Linked DNA regions of Homo sapiens: regions 2 and 3 are each linked to region 1. The links are contacts of gene promoters, found by promoter capture Hi-C in blood cells and fetal thymus (Javierre and others, 2016). All regions are on one chromosome and are shown on one strand. Each heading gives the region's core, a stretch centred on a gene start or on the middle of the fragment in contact. The rest is flanking DNA. Distances are from core to core; before and after follow the strand shown. Region 1 holds the start of PEMT (phosphatidylethanolamine N-methyltransferase). Region 2 has its middle 68 kb from the start of NT5M. Region 3 has its middle 48 kb from the start of NT5M.

Region 1 (4,202 bases), core at 696-3,195:
GGTGTGACCTCTTACGGTTGCCTTACTTTGTTCTCAGATAAAGCAAACGCACAAAAATTTGTTTTCTGGGCTTAACAAAACAGGAGTGACCAGTTAGGTCAGAAGACTGGAACATCAGTGAAGTGGATGTGTGGTAGGCGGAGGGGAAAGACTTGCTAGAAGCCCTCCCGCTGCGGGGGGCTCCTTCAGAAATGGCTCTGCCTCTAGCAGCTCTGCCTGGACACTGAGCAGGGAAAGGGTCCCGACACTCATTAGTAACAGTGGTAAGTCAGAGAACCAGCCCTGAGCCTGTGTCCCCAGCCCTGCCGGGGGCCAATGCCTACTGAGCACTTCCCACAGGCCAGTTCCTGGGTGATGAGTTTTACCAACATGTATTTCCCTTTTACTTTTGAGGAAAATGAAGGTGGGCTCAGTCACAGAGATAGTGCATGCTCCAAAGCCAGTGTCTTTCCTGTCTCCTCGGTTGGCCTGCCCCATCCTAGCGATGTTGTGAAGATTGGGACTACCTCTAAAGCAGCACACAGTGGCTGCTCAGTAAATGCTCAACACTGGTAGGTGCTGTGGGCCAAGGTGGAGAGAAACGGGCCATCTGGAGCAGGAAGCAGCTGACTGCAGAAGTCCTGTCTGGGCCCCCAGCAGTCTGGGTGACTGAGCAAATCTTGGAACCTCTCAGTCTATTTCCCCATATTACATAACACCTGGCTACAAAAGGGCTTTTTTCTTTTTTGAGAGGGAGTCTCGCTCTGTCGCGCAGGCTGGCATGCAATGGCACCATCTCCGCTCACTGCAACCTCCACCTCCTGGGTTCAAGCGATTCTCCTGCCTCAGCCTCCTGAGTAGCTGGGATTACAGGTGCGCGCACCACACCCGGCTATTTTTTGTATTTTTAATAGAGACGGGGTTTCACCGTGTTAGTCACGCTGGTCTCGAACTGCCGACCTCTGGTGATCCGCCCACCTCGGCCTCCCAAAGTGCTGGGATTACAGGCATGAGCCACCACACCCGGCCTACAAAAGGGGTTCTTCTGGGACCCGATCGTCTAAACTCTTCTCCATTTGACCCCCTCCATCACTACTCCACAGCTCACCGGTCTTTTCTCTGTTCCTTAGGTGCCCGTCCTGTCTCCAGGCCTTTGTACATACCATTCGTCTTGCCTTGTTTGCCCTGCCCTCACACTTGGCACATCTGGCACCTCCCCTGCACATTCTAAGACAGCATCCTTCCGTACCATTTGACCCACCCCGTTTTTTCCACCACAGTACTCATCCATATTATAACCCTTTATTCACATTTTGTCTTTTATCTCAGTCAGGAGGAAGCGAGGGCGGGGGACTCTGTGTTGTTCCCTACCGTACCCTCAGCGCACAGTCTGGTTCAGAAAATACTCGAGAGTGAATGAGAGAATGAATGAAGGAAAAAATGAGTGGAGGAGGGGTCTTTGGCCGAGCTAAAGAGCCTGGGCGCCGCGGGGGCGGGAAGCTCTAGGCAGTGCTCGTCGCGCACCGCCCCCAGAGTAAAGCGAATTTCAGAAGAGGGCGTGGGGCCCTGGGCGTGTGGGGCCCTGGGCGTGTGTGACCCGGGCCAAGTCCAAGTCCGCAGGAGGCTGCGCGGGAAGCTGCTTATAGCTACGACCCGCGGCCCCCGGCCTCTAGCCCCACCGCCGCCAGGCAAGGGCAGGGACGCCAGGTCAGTTACAGGCTCGGGTGCGGCAGCCGGCGACCAAAGGCACTGGGCGGGAGGCCGGATCCAAGGGGATACTGCTACGTAGCTGCAGCGGAACCGGCAGGCTCTGCGGCGAAACACACTGGGACTTGTAGTTCTCGGCTCCTCTAGACGCTGTCGCGAGCCCCCAGATAAAGAGGCACTTCGCGGTGACGGGGAACTACATTTCCCAGAAGGCCGGAATATGTTGGGGGTCACCGGGAAAGCGCCCCGACTGGCGGCACTTACCCGGCTCTATAGGTCCGGTTCCGGGGGCGCGTGGCTGCAGCGGGGCCCGCGTGGTGCCTCCTGAGGCGGCCCCCGGATGAAGAGATCTGGGAACCCGGGAGCCGAGGTAACGAACAGCTCGGTGGCAGGGCCTGACTGCTGCGGAGGCCTCGGCAATATTGATTTTAGACAGGTACTGACCGCACCGGACCGCCGCGGAAACTGGGAGAGGGATCTGCAAGGCCCGAGGGGCGTGAAGGCTTGCGGCGCCTCAAACGCTGCGGGGCGGGGCCGCCAGTTCCCAGGCAATGGGGGCGTGGCGTGGCGGGGGTGGGGGAGCCGCGTGCGGGAGCGCCGGCTGGTGTCTGTGTGTGTGCGTGTGCGCGCGCGTGTAAACCTCAGATTGCGTGTGTCAGAGACGGGGGCGTTCCTGAGCTCGTCTGATTGTGTGCCTGTGTGTGGCCCTGAGATTGTGTGAGACTCAGAGGTTGTCCGTGTTAGTCTTTGGGATTGTGTCTCACTGAAATTATGTGATGCTCTGAGAGTGTGCCGGAGAGTGAGTGTGAGTGTGTATGACCGAGGCTGTGTGTGACTGAGCGTGGGCGAGGGTGAAGGAGGCCGATTATATGTTTGGGAGTGTGTTGTGTGGCCCCTGCTCCCGTCCATCCCCCAGGGTCAGGAGGCCAGCTTTTGCCCAGAGGCAAGAGAGTGGTGGGGACCCTGCCTGTCTCCCAGCCGGCCCTGGGCAGGCTGCAGACCACCACCCAGCCGTTTCGGGGCCATAATGGGTGCGACCGGCCCCAGAAGCTGGGGGCCTGGCTTGCCTGCTGAGGCTGCCCTCTGCAGAGTCCTAGGCCAGAGAGTGCCTGTCCTGGCATCTCCCCAGGCTCCCAATTCCAATGGATTCCAATTTCCAACCTCTCTTGCATTCTCCCTTCTATCAAAGCTTCCTCTTAGATGCTCCATTTACCTTTTTCATCACCCACTCTTCATGAAGCCTGTAAGGCACATCTCTGCCCCAAGCAGCTTCTAATCCAGTTCTTTCGCTCCCTTCATTCCTTACTCACATGTGCATTTATTCACTCACTGATCCAGCCAGTATTGATTCAGGGCCGGCTGAGGGCCTCGTGTCACTCAGAAGTTTAAGGGCACTTCTGTCACTGAGCTTTCATTCTAGGGAGGGAGATTGTAGGCCTGGAAAGCCAGAGAGTTCTCTGAAGGAGCTAATACCAGTTAGTGTTTTGAAGAGTAGCTGATGGGAAGGCGGGATTGAAATCCCAAGAGAGCCTGTTGCCGTATCTGCGAGGGAGGGACCTGGGATCTGAGAGCCGAAAGGTCAGTCAGTGGGGCAAGATTCCCCAGAGGAGGGAGGCAGTTGCGAAGCCCTCCAGGAGGCACAGGAGGAGATGGGCCGCTGGCCCTGAGGGAGCGCAGGACCGTTGGCCAGATGGGTGCTCAGCAGAGGACAGGAAGAAGACTATTACTTTAGTAAACTGTCCATTGAATTACAACATGCAGTCAGATGAGTGATGGGTCCTACCCCTACAGCTCCTGCATTTTCACCAGGTGAACCTGTATCTGTTAATCCTCAGATCAAGATGGGGGGTCATGATCACCTCCAGGGGCTGCCCTCAGAAGCCACCGTGTAGAAGGGTGGGTGGGGGAGCCATGTAGAAGGGGGGGCAGAATGCAAGGGGGCAGTGTCCCTTTGCAGACCCATCTAGGGGCCTGCCCCAGGGCCTGCCAGTGGGCAGGGGAGACTAACCGGGTGTGTGAGGGGTGGGCTTCTCTGCTCTTTCTCCTTTCTCCCCAGGGCTGTGCAGCTGGAGAGAGCTGGGGCTGGGGTTCGGGTCAGGGTGACCCTTGTTGACTAACATTCTGCTTTTCTTCTGCTGTCCTTGTTGGTGCAGTTAAGCTTCCTGTTGCCAAGGGATTTTTCTTAAAGAAAGAAAGAAAGAAACATACAACATACAACATTACATATTTGCTTATGTGGTAGCTCTACTCCCTCCTCAATCAAAATCTCCGGTTTTAAAATATGTCAGTCCCTGGCCTGGGAGAGTTGCAAGGTTTTTGTTCACCCCATGGGCGTCTGAGCTGCAGGATCTCCGGTGCTAGCCCTGTGCTGCTGTGCTGTCCAGTAGAAACATCGTGTGCCACATGCATAATTTAAACCTTTCTAGTAGCCATGTTAAATTAGTGAGAAGAAATGGAAAATAGCAAAGAAATAGAAAAATAATTTTGACAATATATTTTATTGTTACCAAAATATA
Region 2 (3,823 bases), core at 684-3,183, 220 kb after region 1:
TGTGAGAGGAGGGTAGAGGAATAGTCACTGATACCTTAGTCTGGCTCAGTGAAACAACAGGGCAAAGGAGGCGATCAGAGGTGCATTTGTCTCCGGTGGGCAGAAGGATGGCTTTGAGCTCTGTCCGTCCCTCATCCAAGGAATTTCCTTGTGGGCAAGTTGTGAGGGAGGTATGTAGCTTTTTTTTCTTCAACTTTTATTTTAAGTTCTGGGGTACATGTGCAGGATGTGCAGGTTTGTTACATAGGTAAACGTGTGCCATGGTGGTTTGCTGCAGAGATCAACCCATCACTCAGGTATTAAGACCAGCATCTATTAGCTATTCATTAGGATAAAGAAAGTGGGCTGGGCCCAGTGGCTCATGCCTGTAATCCCAGCACTTTGGGAGGCCAAGGTGGGCAGATCACAAGGTCAGGAGATTGAGACCATCTTGGCCAACATGGTGAAACCCTGTCTCTACTAAAAATACAAAAATTAGCTGGGCGTGGTGGCGGGCGCCTGTAGTCCCAGCTACTCGGGAGGCTGAGGCAGGAGAATCACTTGAACTGGAGGCGGAGGTTGCAGTGAGCCGAGATCGCGCCTCTACACTCCAGCCTGGGCGACAGAGCGGGACTCCGTCTCAAAAAAAGAAAGAAAGAAAATGTGGCATGTAGGCTTTTTTTTTTTCAATCTTTGTAGCCATCTTATTTAGGAATAGAATGGAGGCAGGTTTGCCTGACACAGTTCCCAGCTTGACTTTTCCCTTTGGCTTAGTGATTTGGGGATCCTGAGATTTATTCTCCTTTCACAAACCTTATTTTATAAATGAAGACATAAAGATGGCCCAGAGAGATTCAGTAACTTGCCCAGGGCTGCAGAGCTCCTAAGTGTTAAAGAAAGTGTCAAAGAATGAGCAGGCAGCCACCATGCCTAACAGCCCCCAGAAACACAGAGGGCTGTGGAGAGATGACTACTCTGAGGGGAGGTTTGGAAATGACTTTTCCCAGAAGCTGAGAGCCAAGGCCAAGTAGGGGTGGAAGGAGGGAGAGAGTGGAGTAAAACTCCAGGTAGAAGCATCAGCTTGTGCAGGAGCCTGAAGGCAGACAGAATGATTGCCACGTGGGGAGCCAGGCGAGTGTGCAAGGCTCCCAAACATTGAATGACCAGAGGTCACTCTTGTCGCCATTTTGGTTTTGGTGGGTTTTGGCCGGCTCCTTTACTGCAACCTGTTTTATCAGCAAGGTATTTATGACCTATATTTCATGCTGACCTCCTATCTTATCCTGTGATGATAAGCTGGTGACTGTCCTCCCCACCAGCTCCCATGTGCACATCTAGATGCAAGGGGCCCTGGGAAGTACGTTTCTGGCCCAGTATGAGGGAGATTCCTCAGACACACAAAGGGTGACTTAGAATGCCTGAACTGTCTGGGAATGCAGCACGGTAGGTTTCAGCCTCATTTTACCCAGCTCCTATTCAAGATGGAGTTGCTTTGGTTCAAACGTCTCTGACACTTCCAGAGCTGTAGAGGTAGGAAGCAGAGTTGTCAGTAAGACTGGGGGATTGGAACTGGGGAGGGAGAGAGGAGACAGGGTGACTGCTGGGCTTCACACTTGGGCAAGGGGAGGGATGTTTCCGATGGAAACAGAGGAGGAGTAAGCTTGGGGAGGAGGCAGGTATCAGTCAAGGTTCCTCCTTGCAACCCATGCCAGGCAGTTTAGGCATGTGAAGGATTAATGAAGGATAGAGTCAGCTCACAGGGTCTTCAAATGGCCCGGAGGGCAGGCCTGCAGCCAGAGGTCCATGCAAATCCCAGCCCAGAAGAGCATACCACCAGCACTGGGGCCAGATGCTGTGGTTGCCACTGGACCCTTGGCGTCTCAGCAGCCACCTGGCCAGGGCGGCTCACATGGTGTCTACAGATCCTCATGCAGGGCCAGTGACTGTCCTGCCTACCAGCTCCCGTGTGCACGTCTAGGTGCAAGGGGCCCTGGGAAGCACATTTCTGGCCCAGCATGAGGGAGATTCCCCAGACATACAAAGGGGTTCAAAAATGCCAGCCAGCCAAAAATCATGACTGGTGTTGACCAGACGAAAGAAGAGGCAAGTTCCACGTTGGCCCCATAGAGATGGAGGGGCCTGCAAGACCTCCAGGTGGAACGATTCAGTATTTCTAGGTGCATATACAGGAGAAGTCTGAGCCATGCCATCTAAGCCATTTTTCCTGGGAGATTTTAAGCAAAGCTTAAAATTACATGATGTTCTAACCCTCACTCAGGCCCTGGTTAAAAAGTATTGTGAGGCTCGGGTTTTGTGGATTTAGGAAATTGTGTATTCAGTTGTGGTCTGATTGATCTATTTTCTTTACTTTAAAAAAAAAAAAAAAGGGGCCAGGCACAGTGGCTCATGCCTGTAATCCCAGCACTTTGGGAGGCCGAGGTGGGTGGATCACTTGAGGTCAGGTATTCAAGGCCAGCCTGGCCAACATGGTGAAACCCCATCTCTACTAAAAATACAAAAATTAGCTGGGTGTGGTGGCACACACACCTGTCATCCCAGCTACTTGGGTGGCTGAGGCACGAAAATTGCTTGAACCCGGGAGGTGGAGGTTGCAGTGAGCCAGCCACTGCACTCCAGCTTGGGCGACAGAGTGACACTCTGTCTCAAAAAAAAAAAAGTTAGTCATGATTCACTGGCGTTTGGGTTTCAGTTGAGCTTCAGAAATTCAAATATTGATTCTTGGAGTCACAGAATTTCTCATGTGGGAAGAATCTTAGAGGGCCCCATTCATAACACAGAATTCACCACACGAAGGCCAGGGACCAGGGTGGAAGGGGGCTGGCACGGCGTGGCCCTCAGAGAGCCTGGACATGCAGACTTGGCTCTGCCTCTGAGTTTGTCTCCTTGTGTGTAAAATGTGGGTGAGAGTCCTCCCTCTGTGAGCTGGTCAGGATCTAATAAAACAATTAAAAGAGAGAGAGAGAGACAGAGAGAGAGACAGGGTATTGCTCTGTTGTCCAGGCTGGAATGCAGTGGCACAATCATAGCTCACTGCAGCCTCTAACCCCTGGGCTCAGGCAATCCTCCCACCTCAAGATCCCAAAAAGCTGGGACTACAGGCACTTACCACCATACCCAGATATTTTTTTTCTAAACTTTTTGTAGAGATGAGGTCTCACTATATTGACAAGGCTGGTCTCAAATTCCTGGGCTCAAGCAATCCTCCTGCCTCAGCCTCCCAAAGTGCTAGGATTACAGGTGTGAGTAGTTCTTTAAATCTCTGGCAGAATTCATCAGTGAAACCATCAATCCAGGACTTCTCTTTGTTGGGAGGTTTCTGATTACTGAGCCAATTTCCTTCCTAGTGAGGGGTCTATTTGGAGTTTCTATTTCTTTGTGATTTAGTTTTGATAGTTTGTGTATTTCTAAGAATTTCTCCATTTCATCTAGGTTATCCAATTTGTTGGCATACAAGTGTTCATAGCGTTTTCTTATAATCCTTTTTATTCCTGTAAAATCAGTAGTAATGTCCCTACTTTAATTTCTGATTTTGATAATTTAAGTTTTTTCTCTTTTTTTTCTTAGTCATTCTTGTTAGTTTTGTCAATTTTTGTTGGTCTTTTAAAAGAATCAACTTTTGTTTCATTGATTTTCTCTATTGTTTTTCTATTCTCTATATTATTTATCTCTGCTCTAATCTTAATTATTTCCTCTCTTCTGCTATTTGGGCTTATTCTGTTTTGTTTTTGTTTTTGTTTTCTAGTTCCTTAAGTTGTAAAGTTAGGTTGTTGATTTGAGATCTTTCTTGTTTTTCACCATAAGCATTTTTTTTTTTTTTTGAGAC
Region 3 (4,164 bases), core at 1,059-3,558, 240 kb after region 1:
GACCCAGAAAACTAAAGAAACCCCATGGTCTTTCTGCCTTCAAGCCCGAGGCCAGCCTGGAGGGCTCCAGTCCGCACCACTTCGGGTGTGTGTGTATGGTGCACACACATGTGCCCCCTTCATCTCTGCTTCGTCATCCTCATCCCGGCTGCCATCCATTGAGCCGCATCTATATGCCGGACACTCAGAGAGAGATGCCCTTAAAATGTCCATTTTGCAATTTAAAAAAACACCCCCACTAAAGCTCAGGCATAGAAGCAGAGCATAGAGGTCTGCAGGGGGGTTGGGAAGGGAGTTGGGGGGACAGCCACCCTTCCTCTGCCCTGGGCTGCGGCTCCTGCCGCCGAGCTTCCCTGCCTGGCTGGGCTGCCCCAGGCCTCCCTCCCTCCCCAGCATTTGGGCCCCTCGTGAATGAGGACACATTTTACAGAGTCATGTGACCCCCCGCCCCGTGACCACCCAGCAGCCCATGTAAGAAGACCACGTGATGGAACCCGAGGGCTGAAAAGTGCCATTAGTGCCACCCCAGGGTGCACGGGACGCAGAGCAGGCCCTGCCGCAGTACTCGCCACACAGCAGCCTCTGTCGCCTGCGGCAAACAGGCCACATCCCCAGCCCATCTGTTCATTGGAGGGTTTAGACCCAAATGCTGGAAGTAAACTTAATCTGGTGAGACTGCTCCCACGCCTGTCCTCCACGGCACTGGCCATAGCCCCTCCAACATGAGTCATCGCCAGCCTGGGGCCGGCTGTTATTGACCCGGATGTCCTGGTGCGAAGCCTGTTCTGCTTATGGTGACTTCAGACCAGGCCACCCACCCCCTGAGCCCGCTGTGAGGCGTCACTGCACTTGTCACAGGCTCTGCTGCCAGGTTTGCCGCCACCACCACCCCTCGCTATTTCTGGGCCCTTTCTACGACATCATCTGCAACCACTGTGGGCCAGAGCTCAGCTGCTCGCTCAGAGCATGGGCATGGTGTGCCAGCTGCTCTGCCCTCCAGGGAGCGTCCACAGGCTGGGAAGCAGAAGCGGACAGTGCAGTGAGAGAGCAGGAAGGACGCGAAAGCCTGGTCAGACTGTGTGACCCCCTGGGGGTGAGCGTGCCCTGGGCCTCCCAGGCCAACGAGCTTTGCGCACGTGCACATGGGTGGGTTTGAGCTGCGTTTCTGACACACGCAAGTGGAAGTCTGGAACCTGGAAGGGGGCCAAGGTGGCGGGGGGCGGGGTGGGCAGTGAGGACCCCACCCAAGCTGGGTAGGGGCTGCAGTGGGGAAGCAGCCAGGGACTTGGGCCAATTGCCCACTGAGGCTAAAGCTGAAGGGACCCAGCACAAGAACGTCTCGTGCTGGGACACGCTGGCCCACATGCCACCTGCTAAGGCTCATTAAGGGGTTGCCCTCCGCCGGGGCGGGCTGCCCAAGTGCAGCAGAGACCGGCTCCCCACAGCACAGGTGCAAATGGACTGATGAGGGATCCCCAGCGACACATGTGCCCTGGGAAGTGTGTGGTCTGAAGTCCTCACATCCCTCGGAGCCTGGAAGGGGGTGAGTGACAGGACAGAGGCTCAGCAACGCTGGCCAAGGAATCTGTCCTTCCTAGGCATGGGACACCCCGCTCAGTGTGGGGGTCCCCATCAGCAGCTTGCGCAGTCCCTGGGCCCTCTGGGGTGGAGACGGGTAGAGGGCCCAGCCAGAAGGGCTCTGCCACATCGTCCTTCACAAAAACGTCTGAGGAAAAGGCCACGTGGACAAAAGGAGGGCCTCCTGAGAAACACTGAGCAAGGCTGACCCAGGTCGAACGCCGCATGGCCTCGGGAACGTAACTGCACCTCCCGAGCCTGCCTCCTCCCCCCCACAGGTGGGAATGGCACTGCCGTGGACTGGAGAAGGATCAGAAGCTTTCCTCACATGCATGGCCTCATCTGGCCTGACGACCCCACGGGGTGAGGACTCACAGCCTACATGTGTCAAGAAGAGCTGGCCTAGGGTGGGGAACCTGGGCCAGTGAGCCCTGGACAGGCCCAGGCTGCTCTCCCCCTGGGCTCAGGCACTCGAGGAGTCCATGCAGGAGATACCAGGGGTCCCTCAGAAGGTGACCTGTGGTCAGCCCACCCCTGGTCAGAACCCCAGGCTCGGGGAACCACAAACCCCAGAGAGGTCTGAGGGCCAGGAGCAGTGTTCCCATCCTCAGCAGGGTCCCCAGGGTGGGGGCGAGGCCAGGCAGCAGTGGCCCCTCACCGAGGACAGATGGACACCCTGCACAGACAGGGATGAAGGGCCAAGGGGGAGCAGCATGGGGACAATGACAAGGCCCCTCTGCTAGAGGCCCCCCTGCTGGAGGCCCCGCTGCTGAAGAGCAGGTAGGGGAGTCAGATTCCTCCACCCTCTGGCAGGACAGAGAAACAGGGGCACATTCCCCACATACCTGAGCGTGCGGCCACGATTCCTACATGCTCCACAAACCTGCTTTCCCAGCGCCCTCTCCACCTGGGGGATGTCACCCCTTCCAGGGGCTCTGGTCCTAGAGCTCTGAATCTTTCCAATATTTTCAAATGAATCACAACTTTCACCGAGAGCTGAGTCACTGAGAGGCCAGCCTGGTGGATAAGGGAGGGATAGAGCTGATGTGCCATGGGGCAGAACCAGGCCTAGCTCTCCTAACGGGGGTGGATCTTCTTTTCTGGGGTTCAAAAACTGGTTCTGAGGCAAAACACAAGCTTCCCAAGCTTTCAAGAAAGTGACCTTCATTTCAATCAGAATTTTTTTGTTGTTGAGATGGAATTTTCTCTGCCACCCAAGCTAGAGTGCAGTGGCGCGATCTTGGCTCACTGCAACCTCTGCCTCCCGGGTTCAAGCGATTCTCCTGCCTCAGCCTCTCGAGTAGCTGGGATTACAGGCGCCCGCCACCACGCCCAGCTAATTTTTGTATTTTTAGTAGAGACAGGGTTTCACCATGTTGGCCAGGCTGCTCTCGAACTCCTGGCCTCAACTGATTCATCTGCCTCAGCCTCCTAAAGTTTTGGGATTACAGGCGTGAGCCACTGCGCCTGGCCTCAATCAGGAGACTGTTGACACGATCATGAATTTGGGGTCTCAGCCAAGGTCAGTGCAATGGGGACGGCAGCAGCCGGCTGAGCATCCAGGTGCAGACGGCACCTCACTCATCAACGCCTGCTTCCCATTTCCACCTCAGCAAGCTCCCCCCAGCCCTGGGTCTCTGCAGGGCGTCTCAGCCAGGGGCTGGCCCCTTCTTCCACATAGGAGACCGTGCTGGGACCTGAGGCCCCCGGGGCCTCCTCCTGCTGCTCCACAGTGCCTCGGCAGCCCCAGGCACCCCTCGAAGTGCTTGTTAACGTCACAGCAAGTTGCTTTGAGACCGTCGGGTGGGGTCATGTTCTGAAACATTTTTGCCCCTGCAATTATTTTTTTTTCTTTAAATAAATTATGTGGCTGAAGCAGCTGCCCACCTCGGGGTGAGTGATGATAACAGCAGAGAACAAATGTGGCAATTTGGAGCATGGAGTTCCTAAACTGACCTTTAAAACTGATGGCAATTATCAGTCTAAAAGGTTTCGCAACAGTCCGTCTCCTGAAGGATTCAGAGCATGTTACTCTTGCGGATGCTTGGTTAGGAGCTGACGGAGACTGCCCAGCCCTGCCCTGCCCTAGACTCAACAAAGATTCCCTGGCTGGTGTAAGAGGCAGGAGGGAATGTCCCCCAGTGGTACCCCACCAGGCCCTGCTCCCCTCTTTGTGGACAGAAGGCCTCAGGGCCCCTCCACAGCTCCCTCGGGGTCCGTGAACACTGCTCTCAGCAACCCGACCCACACCCCTGCACCAAGTCAGCCCCCAGGCCCGGGGCTCTCCCTGGGCAGGAGGAGGGAGGGAGAAACCAGGATGTGGCTGAGAAAATCTGGACAGGATTGAGTTTCTGTCATCAGAAGGACCCCCAGGATGGAAACAAGCCAAGTTGTTTTCTGCACCCCAAGCTATAGTCACAATGTTTTCAGGGTGTGGCTGGCCCCAGGAGAGTCCCTGTGACTCGAGTCTTCTGATGGGGCAGTCCCTCTCAGGACAGGGCGTGGAGCAGGTGGACAGGCCCTGCTGGGGACAAGAAAGGAGTTGCACATCACACATTCTCCTGGCCCTTCATGAGGAGGGACTTT

Evidence for each region. Contacts are between HindIII fragments. The CHiCAGO score rates a contact against its expected background, and 5 or more counts as called.
Region 2: a fragment that was not itself captured here is called in contact with the fragment with the promoter of PEMT in region 1 in 2 of 17 cell types (erythroblasts and M0 macrophages); the score reaches 5.9 in erythroblasts.
Region 3: a contact is called between a fragment that was not itself captured here and the fragment with the promoter of PEMT in region 1, in 10 of 17 cell types (M0 macrophages, erythroblasts, endothelial precursors and 7 more). The highest score is 11.4, in M0 macrophages.

What each region holds. Positions count from the first base shown.
Region 1 is chr17:17,589,451-17,593,652 of GRCh38, reverse strand. It overlaps PEMT (phosphatidylethanolamine N-methyltransferase), which reads left to right and starts at 1,945. Exons shown (of 7, transcript NM_148172.3): 1 at 1,945-2,122. The coding sequence starts at 2,027. RefSeq lists enhancers at 1,804-2,193, 1,759-2,500. The HindIII fragment of the contact is 3,820 bases long and covers 1-2,877 here.
Region 2 is chr17:17,368,965-17,372,787 of GRCh38, reverse strand. No RefSeq gene overlaps it. Among named protein-coding and RNA genes, the nearest start is that of NT5M, 68 kb to the right of the region's middle. The HindIII fragment of the contact is 584 bases long and covers 1,642-2,225 here.
Region 3 is chr17:17,348,979-17,353,142 of GRCh38, reverse strand. No RefSeq gene overlaps it. Among named protein-coding and RNA genes, the nearest start is that of NT5M, 48 kb to the right of the region's middle. RefSeq lists enhancers at 574-868, 1,133-1,712. The HindIII fragment of the contact is 819 bases long and covers 1,899-2,717 here.